3 separate regions of the Homo sapiens genome follow, and all the other regions are linked to region 3. The links are contacts of gene promoters, found by promoter capture Hi-C in human tissues and cell types (Jung and others, 2019). All regions are on one chromosome and are shown on one strand. The core of a region is centred on a gene start or on the middle of the fragment in contact, and the rest is flanking DNA. Distances in the headings are between cores, read along the strand shown. Region 1 overlaps CYP4F22 (cytochrome P450 family 4 subfamily F member 22). Region 2 holds the start of OR1I1 (olfactory receptor family 1 subfamily I member 1). Region 3 holds the start of BRD4 (bromodomain containing 4).

Region 1 (4,574 bases), core at 133-2,632, 220 kb after region 3:
ATGAAAGGCCTTGCCGAGGAGATGTTTGAGCTGAGAACTTAGGGGATGAAGGATCAGGGAGAAGCCTGTTCTAGGCAGAGGAAACAGCAAGTGCAAAGGCCCTGAGGTGGAATCTCACTGGTGCGTGTGAACAACAGAAGGAGGCAGGTGTGGCTGCATTGCAGGAAGTGCAAGGTGGAATGGAAGAGGTGGCCCTGGGGTGCTCCCCATCCATCTTTACTGACCCCCAGAGGCTCAGGGAAGGGGGCCAGGCTGGGATGTCTGGGGCAGCCCCCAGACTCATCTCCAGGCTGTTCCTCCCTAGGTGTACAACCCCTACCGCTTTGACCCGGACAACCCACAGCAGCGCTCTCCACTGGCCTATGTGCCCTTCTCTGCAGGACCCAGGTAACCCCTCTATTTCCCCTAGTCCAAGCCAGCTGTGTAGGAACAGAGGCAGGGAAAGATCAGGAATGTGCCTCTCAGGAGCAGAGATCAGATGGCACCCAGGCGTCCTTTCTGAAGACCCAGCACCCTCTCCCCAATGCGCCAGGAGGCCCCCAAATCAGACTCTGCAATAGCATCCTGGGTATTGAGCACCAACGGTGTGTCAGGCCCTGAGTTCTGGGCTCCCACGCTCCCATTGGCTCTATGATGCCTTTGTCCCCGTTTTTACAGATGAAGGAACTGAGACTCAGAGGGGGCGCTGTGTATCCAGGACACACAGCTAGTAAGAGGCTGTACTGGGATTCAGACACTCAACCCCAAGGTCACATTAATTGAGCGATCCGTGGGGTCTCACTTTAACCCTCACCCAGCGTGGGGTTTCACTTTAACCCTCAGCCAGCCCAGGATGCTTGCTTCATTTTCAAAGGAGGCATGTGACCCCCGGGGACCAGTGCTCACACAGAAGCTGGGCCTGAGCCCTGTCCCCTCTTCCTCCAGGAATTGCATCGGACAGAGCTTCGCCATGGCCGAGTTGCGCGTGGTTGTGGCACTAACACTGCTACGTTTCCGCCTGAGCGTGGACCGAACGCGCAAGGTGCGGCGGAAGCCGGAGCTCATACTGCGCACGGAGAACGGGCTCTGGCTCAAGGTGGAGCCGCTGCCTCCGCGGGCCTGAGCGTGGGCGCGCCCCTGCGGCTCCCGAGGGTCCAGGCCCCGCCCCCAAAGGACCAGGACTCGCCCCAAAGATCCCGAGGGCATAGGCCACCCCCCTCGAAGTTCAGGTTCAGCTCCTGGATGACCAGGCACCGCTGTTGAGCAGCCTGGTGGTACTGGCCACGCCCCTCAAGGCAAGGCTCCTCCCCTTAGGGGGCCTGATCCCGCCCCTTGAGGCTTAGGTCCCGCCCCCTGACTTCTCGCACCTGTCCTGTTTGAGGGACCAGGGTCGACCCTGCCCCCTTGGGCTCAGGCCCCGCCCCCAGGATCCTACGGATTGAGGTCCTCAGGCCACGCCCCTGCAGATCCAGGTCTCCAGGCCTTGCCCACTGAGCCTTCAGAGGACCTAAGACCCACCTATGACTCAGGGCCCACCACACCCCACCCCCCCCCAACTGGCTGAACCCCTGGCAGGCTTCCAAACTGAGGAAAGCTGGAGCCTGACGTCAGAGCTTTTAACTCGGACATCACCCTCCTGAGGCCCTCAGCTCATACGGGCAGACTGCTCAGGCGTGAGGCTGGATCGTAGGGTTCGAGGCTGCTTGCTTTTGTTGTTGTTTTGTAAACTCAGACCCTTGTAAGCCCCTTCCTTCCTCCCTTGCCCAAAGATCCTTTGCTGAGTGTTCTGTTTTTGCAGAATAAAAGCAAAGGATGCAGACTTACCCCACCCTCCACCCCTAGCTCAGCCAGATCCTTACACGTGGAGCCCCCAGCATGGGAATGAGGGGCTCTGCAACTGAGCGAAGCTGCGGGCTAGGAGGCTGGAAAGCCATTTATCCTAGGACATAAACTCAGATTTTGGGGGTCAGTTTGTGTGTTCATTTATTTCATCAACAGATCACATATTGTTTGCTGGCACTGCTTCAGAACCACAGGCAGGCCCTGTTTTCTGCCTTCTTAGGGGGTGGGGGACAGATGTTGAACAAATAATTCCACGTGTAAAGGTTTATTTACAACCCAGGACAGGTGCTCCAAAGGAGAGGCCCCGGGTGCTGGATGAATATAGCAGAGGGATGGGGATGGGTCAGGGAGAGCTTCTCCGATGCTGGAATGGAAGTTGAGTGGGTGACAAGGGGAGGGAAGAGTATTCCAGGCAGAAGGAACAACATCTGAGAATACCCTGAGCTGAGGGAGAACAGAGTGTGTTTGAGGAACTCACCAGGGGCCAGGTGGTTGGATCTGGGAAGTGGGGGCAGAATGAAGGAAGGGGCCAAATGCACAGGCTTTATGCTGAGGGCAATAGGGAGCCATGGAGAGTGTGTGAGCGGGATCAGGACAGGACATGGCCAGATCTAGGGCTGGCAGGGAGGTGACTTGCGGGGTTGGGACCCTGGGAAAGAGGGAAGCTGAGGTCCAGACAACAGGAAGGGCCAGGATTGGGGTGACTATCTAGCAGTGGGGGCTGAGGGGAGGGAGGTGGTAAGGGTGATGCTCAGGTATTTGGCTGAGGGAACTTGATGGTAGAGTAGTCCCTGATATGGGAATATAAAAGATGGGGGCCAGGCGTGATGGCTTACACCTGTAATCCCAGCACTTTGGGAGGCTGAGGCTGGAGGATTGCTTGAGACCAGGAGTTAGAGACCAGCCAGGGCAACACAGTGAGACTCCATTTCTACAAAAAATAAAAAATTAGCCAGGTGTGATGGTGCACATCTGTAGTCCCAGCTACTTGGGAGGCTGAGGCAGGAGGATCACTTGAGCTGAGGAGTTTGAGGCTGCAGTGAGCTATGATCACACCACTGCACTCCAGCTGGGGCAACAGAGCAAGACCCTGTTCCAAAAACAAACAAACAAAAAAAGGTGGGCAATGACAATGTCAGCAATTTTATACATATAAAATGCTACACTAAAGGAAAATGATACTGCTATTATACCACATATATAATATATATATATGCACTATATATGCCATCATTATATATATAGTGGTGGTATAATAGTGGTATCATCTTCCTTTTAGGTAGCATTTGCCTGTAGACTATTTCCATCTAGGTCACTAGAGACAATAATATTAATTCAACAGGCCGGGTGCGGTGGCTCATGCCTGTAATCCCAGCACTTTGGGAGGCTGAGACAGGTGGATCACCTGAGGTTAGGAGTTTGAGACCAGCCTGGCCAACATGGTGAAACCCTGTCTCTACTAAAAAATACAAAAATTAGCCACGTTTGATGGCGGGTGCCTGTAATCCCAGCTACTCAGTAGGCTGAGGCAGGAGAATCGCTTGAACCTGGGAGGTGGAGGTTGCAGTGAGCCGAGATTGTGCCACTGCACTCCAGCCTGGGCGACAGAGTGAGATTCTGTCTAAAAAAAAAATTAATTTACCAAATATTTCTTGGGCAATCTGCCGTGAGACAGGCACTGTTTGAGCCCTAGGTTCCCAGAGTTTACCTCTAGGGAGGAGATATGATAAATGATAAATAAGTAAAGAAAGAAGTAAATTCACACAGGGCCTTTTCTGTGACTTTTTTTGTGACAGAAATGGGGAGTTCTGAGCAGAGGAGGGACAAGCTTTGTCATACGAACTTTTTTTTTTTTTTTTTTGAGACAGGGTCATGCTTTGTTGCTCAGGCTGGTGTGCAGGGGTGCAACCATAGCTCACTGCAGCCTTGGCCTCCTTGGGCTCAAACGATCCTCCTGCCTCAGCCTCCTGAGTAGCTGGGACCACAGGCACACACCACCATGCCCAGCTAAGCTTTGTATTTGTTATCGAGACGGGGGTCTTACCATGTTGCCCAGGCTGGTCTTGAACTCCTGGTCTCAAGCGATCCTCCCACCTCAGCCTCCCAAAGTGCTGGAATTACAGGTGTGAGCCACCATGCCAGGACTTCCACAGGACTTTGTGTGCTCTGTTAAACAGAGACAGTGTGAGCAAAGATGGGACTAGGCAGATCAGTTAGGGGTGACTGCATTCGTCCAGGTGAGACATGATGGTGGCTTCAACCAAGCCGGGGTCTTTAGATGTGATCAAGAGCAATTGGATTCCAAGGAGGAGTGACTGTTCACAAAGGCAGTGCTGTCAGGCTTGGTGGTGGATAAAACGTGAAGTTTGAAAGAAGTGGGGGACACTAGGTTTGGGCTTGAACATCTGGAAAAATGGAACTGCCATCAGCTGACGTGGGGAATGCTGAGTGGAGTAAGTTGTTTTGTGGGAGATGTCAGGATGTCAGTTTTGGTTCAGAGGAATTGGACATGTCAGTCGAATAAACGGTTCTCCAATTCAAGAGTTTTGGGTTGGGCATGTATATTTGGGAAGCCTTAGTATAAATATTTTATATATTTTTCCAAAAGCTAGTGAAGCGATTTCAAATGGGGGTGATTTTTCCTACCAGATGACATTCGTTGTTATTTGGAAACATTTTTGGTTGTCACAACCGGTGGTTACTATTTGCGTCTAGAGGGTAGGGACCCAGCACTCTGCTAAACATTCTACAAG
Region 2 (4,380 bases), core at 976-3,475, 250 kb before region 3:
TATAACTGGCCCTGCCTTATACCAATTTCCCAGGGGGGGAAATGTTATTTTTGATAACATTTTCTATAGAGTCATATCAAAAAGAAAGGCTTTTTTCTTCCTGAATATATCTTTTATTCCTCCTTATCTCTCTTCACTCTTCCTTCTATAACTGGTTTCAGAATTCCCAGGAGAGTTCGGATGGGAGACACCAATGTCCTACCTACCATGGCTTTGGGCAAAATAATTTTTTTTCAGAACCACGGACAGTGGCAAAAGTTTGTTCACCCAGTGGGACTTTTTTTTTTTTTTTTTTTTGAGATGGAGTCTTGCTCTGTCACCCAGGCTGGAGTGCAGTGGCACAATCTCGGCTCACTGCAATCTTCGCCTCCCAGGTTCAAGTGATTCTCCTGCCTCAGCCTCCCAAGTAGCTAGGATTACAGATGCCCACCCACCATGCCCAGCTAATTTTTGTACTTTTAGTAGAGACTGGGTTTCACCATTTTTCCCAGGCTGGTCTCGAACTCCCGACCTCAAGTGATCCACCCGCCTCAGCCTCCCAAAGTGCTGGGATTACAGGTGTGAGCCACCATGTCTGGCCACCTTATGGACTTTTTAGGTGGGTTTTTCCCCAACCTTTGGGCTCAAATTGATTTTTTTTTTTTTTTTGAGACAAGGTCTCACTCTGTCACCCAGGCTGGAGTGCAGTGGCATGATCTCAACTTGCTGCAAACTTCACCTCCCGGGCTCAAGGGATCCTCCCACCTCAGCCTCCTGAGTAGTTGGGACTATAGGCACGTCCAGCTAATTTTGTATTTTTAGTAGAGACAGGGTTTCACCATGTTGGCCGGGCTGGTCTCAAACTCCTGAGCTAAATTGATCCACCTGCCTCGGCCTCCCAAAGTGCTAGGATTACAGGTGTGAACCACCATGCCCAGCCTCTGAAAATAATTTTAATTTTAAAAAAATAATGACAGTGGGATTGGCACCTACTCATATCCCCATATGTCCAACGCGAAGTTGGTCTACCTTGTTCTTGCTTTGAAGCTGACCTCCCCACAGAGTTACGATCCAAGAGCCAACAGTCCAACAGCCAATATTATTAGGGAAAGTAATTCTAATATTTACTAAAGCCCCTAGGAGAATTTCAACAAGTATCCTACACACGTTCTGTGTGGCTGATAGGAAGGATTTTTTTTTTAAGAGACAGGGTCTCACTCCGTTGTCCAGGTTGGAATGCAGTGGTGCGATCACAGCTCACTGCAGCCTCAACCTCCAGGGCTCAAGTGATCCTCCCACCTCAGCCTCCTGGGTAACTGAGACCACGGGCATGTGCCACCAATCCTGGCTAATTTTTTTAAATTTTTTGTAGATATAAGGTCTTGCTGTTTTGCCCAAGCTGGTCTCAAACTTCTAGGCTCAAGGGATTCTCCAACCTTGGCCTCCCAAGTAGCTAGGATTATAGGCATGAGCCACCGTGTCCAACTCCAGTGCCAAGCAGGTGATCAAGAAGTGTTTGATAGGCCGGGTACAGTGGCTCAGGCCTGTAATCCCAGCACTTTGGGAGACCGAGGAGAGCAGATCACTTGAGGTTTGAGATCAGTCTTTCCAACATGGTGAAACCCTGTCTCTACTAAAAATACAAAGACTAGCTGGGCATGGTGGTGGGCACCAGTAATTCCAGCTACTCAAGAGGCTGAGGAGGGAGAATTGCTAGAACCCAGGAGGTGGAGGTTGCAGTGAGCCGAGATTGCTCCACTGTGCTCCAGGCTGGGTGAAAGAGTGACACTCCATCTCAAAAAAAAGTGTTTGATAAATTTATTTATTTAATACCGATTTATTGATTGATTGATACTCTTCGGAGCTTTCCTTAATGAGCCAGTTTCTTCCATAATGCAATGAATGAAAGGACCTCTCAGATTCAGGCATCTGAGTGCCCGACTGGAGTCTGGGACCCCCCAGACCTCTCTGCCTGGGAGCTTCCATGAAGCTCAGCCTGAGCTGGAAGGAGACCGTAGGGAGATGTCCTAGTGAGAGTGAATCCCTAGTCACTGTTTCCTCTTCTTACCCACTCGATGATCCCAAAGCACACCCATCTCCAAAAGAACAGGTCACATGTGGCAGAGGAGAAACAAAATAATTAGCATCCGCTTCCTTAACAAGGAGCTATGGGGACGAAGTCTCCTAGAGTCCCCAGACTATAAATACCCTGATGTTCCCCTGGCTCCCCCACTCACCTGCAGAGTCTGGGGGCGGGGGGGTACACATATGAATCCTTCCCATAGACATCAGGCTAACCCCAGCGATCACAGGTGAGTAGCCCCCATGCCCTTCCTAGGGGTTTAGTGCTGACCTCGGGATCCTCTAGCAGTTGGTGGAGAAGGAGGCTTCCCGGGACCCTCCCCTTGGTGATGCCATCCTGGTGAGCAGGTGAGGGATGGGGAAAGGATTGAGCTGAGGGTGGGGGTGGAGGGTTGTGGGAGAGGAATCTGTCTCCTTCCTAGAGGCCGAGAGAGAGAGAAGAGACTGAGACCAAGTCTAGACTCTCTGAGTGGACAAAGCACGCAGACGGCAGACCCTCTGTGGCAGGATATGTGGAGGAAAAGCACTGAGGGTCTGCAGCTGCAGGACACCTGCACAGATAGGAGAGGTCTTGAGAAACAAGTTTCTCCAATGCAGCAGCTCCCCAAGTGTGGTCCCTGGGCTAGAAGCACCAGCATCCTCTGGAAACTATCTAGAAGTGCTGGTTCTTACACCAGACATTTCAGGGAAAGGGCTTAGCTTTTTGTGTATGATGAGTTTGGGAGCGGGGGGGAGGGGGCGGGGGGATTGTTTTGTTTGTTTGTTTGTTCTTTCTGTTTTTGAGACAGGGTCTCGCTCTGTTGCCCAGTCTGGAGTGCAGTGGCATTATCATAGCTCATCGCAGCCTCGACCTCCCAAGCTCAAGTGATCCTCCCTCCTCAGCCTCCCGGGTACCTGGGATAACAGACATATACCACCATGCCTGGCTAATTTTATTTTCGTAGAGGCAGGGATCTTCCTATGTTGCCCAGGATGGTCTCACACTCCCGGGCTCAAGAGATCCTCCTACCTTGGCCCCCCAAGCAGCTGGGACTAACAGGTGTGTGCCACCATGTCCAGCTAATTTTTTATTTTGTAGAGATGGGGGTCTCACTGTGTTGCCCAGGTTGGTCTCTAACTCCTGGACTCAAGGGATTCTCCCACCTCAGCCTTCTGAGTAGCTGGGACTATGGAAGCATGCCACCATGCCCAGCAGATTGTTTTATTTTTTGTAGATCCAGGGCGGGATTGGGGGTGGGGTGGCCTCACTTTGTCTGCCAGGCTGGTCTTGAACTCCTGGCCTCAAGCAATTCTCCCACTTCAGCCTCCCAAAGTGCTGGGATTACAGGTGTGAGCCACCATGCCTGGCCCGCTTTTTGTGTTTTAACAAGCCTTCCAGGTGACCCTGAAGCGTGCTCAAGGTTGAGAACCGCTGCTCTATGCAACCCAAGTCAACAACTGAGGACTGTTACAAATATGTTGCCAGGAAGGGAATCGCAGTATTCTATCCAGCCTAGAGAAAACCAAGCATTGCATTGCAAAAACCTCAAGTCCAACACTAAAAAGCCTCAAAAAGTTAACATAGGGCTTTGCTGAAGGCCTCTTGGGGTTACCAAGGAGATTATGCTGCTAACCTTCCTAAAAACCCCTTTCATCGGCTGGGCGCTGAAATGATGAGATTACTGGGCTCACGCCTGTAATCTCAGTACTTTGGGAGGCCAAGGTGGGCGGATCACCGGGTCAGGAGTTCAAGACCAGCCTGGCCAACAGGCTTAGTAGAGGCGAAACCCCGTCTCTACTAAAAATACAAAAATTAATCGGGCGTGGTGATGCACACCTGTAATCCCAGCTATTCGGGTGGCTGAGGCACAAGAATCACTTGAACCCAGGAGACGGATGTTGCAGTGAGCCGAGATCGTGCCACTGTACTCTAGCCTAGGTGACAGAGTGAGACTCTGTCTCGAAAAGAAACACGTGTAAATGCTTGTAATTGAATATTTTTCCCTTGCACGTGTTGACAGCACAGAATTTAGCTTCGAAATGCCTCATAAAGAGGTGAGAGTGGCCATTCTTAGGGAGGCAGTGGAGTATGAGAGTGAAAATAAGTCTAAATTCAAAGGCGAGATCAGGCACTTGCAAGCTGAGTGCCCCTGGCAGCTCGCTCAGCCCCAGTCTGCTCACTGTAAATTGTAGCTAACACAATCTCCCTGTGGGAGTTATTGTAAGACCTATGCATTAAGAAACTGGCTCCTGGCTGGCTGCAGTGGCTCACGCCTGTAATCCCAGCACTTTGAGAGATCAAGCCGGGCAGATGATGAGGTCAGGAGTTCAAGACCAGTC
Region 3 (4,907 bases), core at 1,303-3,802:
CTTAGCTAAAAATTTTCCCTCGCTGTCCTCCAGACTAGCGAAGCTAGGCATATAGCACCCCAGAACAGCCAAACAATCCTTAAAACTCAGCAGCTACCTTCTTATCTTTCATCCGTAGGCAAAGTTCCTTATCTTCAGCAATTCCACTGGGCTGACTGCTAGCAAGATACTCGGAGGTGGACTCGACTCCTTCCAATTAAGACCAACTAAAGCCATTCTGAGACCGGCTAACTCCAGTTTGAGCCTTTAAGATACTATGTTTCCTACCAAAGAAAGAGGTATGGTGGATAACAGAGCAGCAATACATTTTGTTTCAGATTAGGCTTTGCCTTCTCCATTTGATCAATGGAAACCCTGAGTGGTTTATCTTTCCCTGGCTGAAGTTTTTGGGGGGAAGCGCTTGGTTATCTACAACGCATCAGTGATAAGATAAAAAGATAAAAAACATAATCCCCACCCAAATTAAACCGAAATAAATGCTTTATGAAATTATTGGCGGCCGGGAACGGTGGCTCATGCCTGTAATCCCAACACTTTGGGAAGCCGAGGAGGATGGAACACCTGAGGTCAGGAGTTCGAGACCAGCCTGGCCAACATGGTGAAACCCGCGTCTCTCCTAAAAATGCAAAAATTAGCTAGATGTGGTGGCGGGCGCCTGTAGTCCCAGCTACTCGAGAGGCTGAGACAGGAGAATCGCTTGAACCCAGGAGGCAGAGGTTGCAGTGAGCCGAGATCGCGCCACTGCACTACAGCCTGGGCGACAGAGCGAGACTCCATCTAAAAGTATATGTATATATTGGCAAGATCATAAAACAGATTGTGCCATCAAAAACTTTCTTGAAATTAAAAACACATTCATAAATCCTTTTGAGTATCGCTTTCTTTACAACTTCCAAAGACGGTAGGGAACTTGACAGCTCCATTCACAAAAAACTCCCGACCATTGTTACAGCCCCAAAGAGCCACTGGCTTACGAGGTAAACTGCGACTTGGTTTTTGGAACCACGGACTGGTAGAGCCCTGTCGAAGGTAAGCAAAGACATTCCAATTCTCGTGAGGCATACATTCCAAGGGGTCACTAGCATCCAACACACACGCAGAGAAATGAACCCAAGACCAGACACCCCACCAGGCTGCACGAAACGTAAACAAGTAAACAAGCAAATAAAAATCTTAAAAAAACAAAGCGTAGTCTTGAGTAAAAGGGAGGTCAGCCACCCAGGAGAAGCACATGACTCATGCACCGGCCTGAACTAAAGTATTTACACCGTCCACTACAACAGAGTGGGGTTTCCCATCTTCAAGCAAACCCAAGCCTTGGGGGCATCTCAGCCGAGTGAAGCCATGCTATTTCCGTTTGGGAGGAGGGGGATCATTTTATTTCGCTGAATCACAACTCCCCCACATCCCCACCCCAAATCACCACAATCACCACCACCACACAACACTGCAAATAAAATAGGCCGTTGCAAGGACGCCGGCGAGCACGGACCGAGCAAAACAAAGCGCCCAGCAAGGGGCTGCCAGGCTGAGAGTGGGTGCGTCAAGCGGGCCAAGCTCGCCTCCAGGGCACCGCTCCCGCCCTGAGGCCTGGCCTCAGACCGGCGTGCAGCCGCAGCCACCTCCCTCCGCAGGGGACCTGCCCCTTTCTCCGCAGCACTCCGGGGACCGCCGGGAAGGTGAAGAGATGGGGGTGGGGGCGCGCTGCCCCGGCCCAGGCAAAACGACCTGGGTGCCAGAAGGAGAGCGCGCCGGCCCCGGCCCACGTGAGCGCCGCGGCCGAGCCCGCCTAGAGGACCGCGGACCGGGACAGCTGCGCTCGCGGCCCCCGCGCCAGGCCGGGACTTACCCGGGCCGGGCGCGCCGCGGACCCCGCGGCGGCCGCTTCCTCCTCCTCCTCCTCCTCCTCACTTAACAAAATGGCGGCGGCAGGAAGTGCCGGGCGCCTCGGCCCGCCCCCCGCCCGCCCCCGACCGCCGGCCCCGCCGCGGCGCCCGCGCCCCCCACCCGCGCCCCGCCGGCCAGCCCAAGCCCGGGTCCGACGGCACCAAAGGCAGGACAGCCGCGAGCGACCCCGCCGCCCCGACACCAACGGCGCAGGCCGCCCCGGCCCGGAACGAACGGCGCGGGAGGCCCGCAGGCCCGAGCCCGCGTAGCCCCGGCCTCCCCGCCCCCGCGCCGCGCGGATGGCGTAGGTGGCGGCGCCCCGGCCCCATTACGCAATGCAGGTTACGCGGACCGCGCCGCGAGCCTCCGCCAGCCGCCCAGTGTCGTCCGCCGCCCCAAAGGGCACCAGTCCTCACCTGAGACGCTAGGCCGCACGCCGCCCCCGCCGGCCGTCCGCCCGCTGCCGCCGCCCCCTCCCCGAGCTGCCTGCGCGGCGCCGGGGCCCGCCCGCCGCTCTGCCGAGCTCACAGGCCGCGCTCGCCCGCGGGCACCGCCGGCAGCCGCCGCAGCCGCTGCCGCCGCCACTGCTTCGGCTCCTCGGCTGCGGGAGACCAGAACAAACAGCCCAGCCGCCGCCGCCGCCGCCGCCGCCGCCGCCAGCGCACTGACGTCACCGCGCACGCTGCGCGCGCGGCCCCGCGCCGCCGCCGCCCGGTGTGCGCGCCCCGCCCCCGCGCCCAGCGCGAACGAGCTCTGGAGAGACAGTGGCTGCGAGGTGAGTGGGGGATACCGCGGACTGAGGGAGGAGACCCCGCAGAGCGAAGGAGCGGGCTGGGGGAAACGGGCGGACTGCAGGCTGGGCCTGCGGGAAAAGATCTGAAGGCTGAGAGAGACATCCAAAATACTAAGAAAGGTCTGAAGACAGACCCTCACAGGGAGGGAGGATGGTGAGGAGGGACCCCACAGACTGATGGAGGAGGCGGAGGAGAGAGCCCTAAGGGGGGACCCCAGGTAGGGAGGCTGAGGCGAGAGAGCTGCGATGGGGGCGCCGGGGCTGGGGTGAAGTGGAGGAAAGGAGGTGAGAGGAGGCTGCGAGCAAGGCCGAGGCGGATCCTCCTTGGCTGCCCCTGGGCAGGGAGGTAGCACCTTTCTCCTCTTATGCCCCCCTGTTGATCTTCTTCCAACCCACCTTTTTAAAAAAAGGGACATGGTCTTGCTCTGTCCCCCAGGCTGGAGTGCAGTAGTGCAGTCATAGCTCACTGCAGCCTCAACCTGCTGGCCTCAAGCGATCCTCCTGCTTCAGCCTCCCAAGTAGCTGGGACTACAGGTGTGCACCACCACACCCAGCTAACTATTTTTTGTAGAGATGGGATCTCACGATGTTGGCCAGGCTGGTCTCTGTCTCCTGGACTCAAGCGATCCTCCTGCCTCGACCTCCCAAAGTGCTAGTATTACAGGCGTGAGCCACCGCGCCCAGCTCCTTCCCATCCTTAAGACTCAACCCCAAGTCAGACCAGGCTCGGTGGCTCACACCTGTAATCTCAGCACTTTGGGAGGCAGAGGCAGGAGGTTGGCTTGAGGCCAGGGGTTGGAGACCATCCTAGCCAACAGAGTGAAACCTCGCCTCTACTAAAAATACAAAAATTAGCCCCGTGTGGGCCGGGCGCAGTGGCTCACGCCTGTAATCCCAGCACTTTGGGAGGCGGGCAGATCACGAGGTAAGGAGATCGAGACCATCCTGGCTAAGACGGTGAAACCCCGTCTCTACTAAAAATACAAAAAATTAGCCGGGTGTGGTGGTGGGCGCCTGTAGTCCCAGCTACTCGAGAGACTGAGGCAGGAGAATGGCGTGAACCCGGGAGGCGGAGCTTGCTGTGAGCGGAGATCGCGCCCCTGCACTCCAGCCTGTGCGACAGAGCGAGACTCCGTCTCAAAAAAAAAAAAAAAAAATTAGCCGGGTGTGGTGGCGCATGCCTGTAATCCCATGCCTGTAATGCCAGCTACTCAGGAGGCTAAGGCAGAAGAATCACTTGAACCCGGGAGGCGTAGGTTGCAGTGAGCCGAGATTGTGCCACTGCACTCTAGCCTGGGCGACAGAGCAAGGCTCTGTCTCCAAAAAAGAAAAAGACTCAACCCTAAGTCAGCTCCAGGACGTATGTGCCTACTCTACATGTGTGAGTCCGAGGGGAAAAAACATCATATGACCTCTTCTAGGGCTTCCAAAGCACCCCACCTGGCCACGGAAGAGCTTAGTAAACATGGGGTAGTTTTGAGATTGCTAAAAGGAGGAAGTTAGGCATATGTCTCTTGTAGCTTAAAATAATACTGTGAAATTTTTCAAACCTGGAAACAACCACTTCTCTTTCCTTTTATATATATATATATTTTTTTTTTTAAGACAAGATCTTGCTCTGTCACCCAGGCTGGAGTGCAGTGGCTGGATCATAGCTCACTGTAACCTCAAACTCTCAGTCTCAAGTGATCCTCCCACGTCAGCCTCTTTAGTAGCTGGGACCACAGGTGTGCGCCACCGTGCCCAGCTAATTTTTGTATTTTTGTGGAGAGGAGGTCTCACCATGTTGCCCAGACTGGTCTTGAATTCCTGGGCTCAAGCGATCCACCTCCCTCAGCCTCCCAAAGTGCTGGAACTACAGGCGTGAGCCACCGCACCCAGGCCATTCTCTTAGCATTTTGTATTCCCATCTTTTAAAAATGGAAAGCAGGCTGGGCGCGGTGGCTCACACCTGTAATCCCAGCACTTTGGGAGGTCGAGGCAGGTGGATCACCTGAGGTCAGGAGTTCTAGACCAGCCTGGCCAACATGGTGAAACTTCGACTCTACTAAAAATATAAAAATTAGCCAGGTATGGTAGCGGGTGCCTGTAATCCTAGCTACTTTGGAGGCTGAGGCAGGAGAATCACTTGAACCCAAGAGGCAGAGGTGGCAGTGAGCTGAGATCGTGCCACTCCACTCCAGCCTGGGCGACAGTGAGACTCCATCTCAAAAAAAAAAAAAAAAAA

What was found. Contacts are between HindIII fragments. The study calls those that stand out against the background at their distance.
Region 1: a fragment that was not itself captured here is called in contact with the fragment with the promoter of BRD4 in region 3 in 1 of the 25 tissues and cell types used here (spleen).
Region 2: a contact is called between the fragment with the promoter of OR1I1 here and the fragment with the promoter of BRD4 in region 3, in 1 of the 25 tissues and cell types used here (pancreas).

Annotation. Positions count from the first base shown.
Region 1 is chr19:15,550,370-15,554,943 of GRCh38, forward strand. It overlaps CYP4F22 (cytochrome P450 family 4 subfamily F member 22), which reads left to right. Exons shown (of 14, transcript NM_173483.4): 13 at 305-387; 14 at 925-1,948. The coding sequence ends at 1,102. Among named protein-coding and RNA genes, the nearest start is that of CYP4F22, 44 kb to the left of the region's middle. RefSeq lists a silencer at 1,197-1,246. The HindIII fragment of the contact is 4,717 bases long and covers 1-3,741 here.
Region 2 is chr19:15,079,986-15,084,365 of GRCh38, forward strand. OR1I1 (olfactory receptor family 1 subfamily I member 1) reads left to right here and starts at 2,226. Exons shown (of 2, transcript NM_001004713.2): 1 at 2,226-2,291. The HindIII fragment of the contact is 16,029 bases long and covers 235-4,380 here.
Region 3 is chr19:15,329,987-15,334,893 of GRCh38, forward strand. BRD4 (bromodomain containing 4) reads right to left here and starts at 2,553. Exons shown (of 20, transcript NM_001379291.1): 1 at 2,304-2,553. It overlaps LOC124904643 (a long non-coding RNA gene), which reads left to right and starts at 2,627. Exons shown (of 4, transcript XR_007067146.1): 1 at 2,627-2,662. RefSeq lists silencers at 1,553-1,602, 1,613-1,762, 1,793-1,892, 2,093-2,322, 2,553-2,652 and 2 more and an enhancer at 2,819-3,435. The HindIII fragment of the contact is 25,776 bases long and covers 1-4,907 here.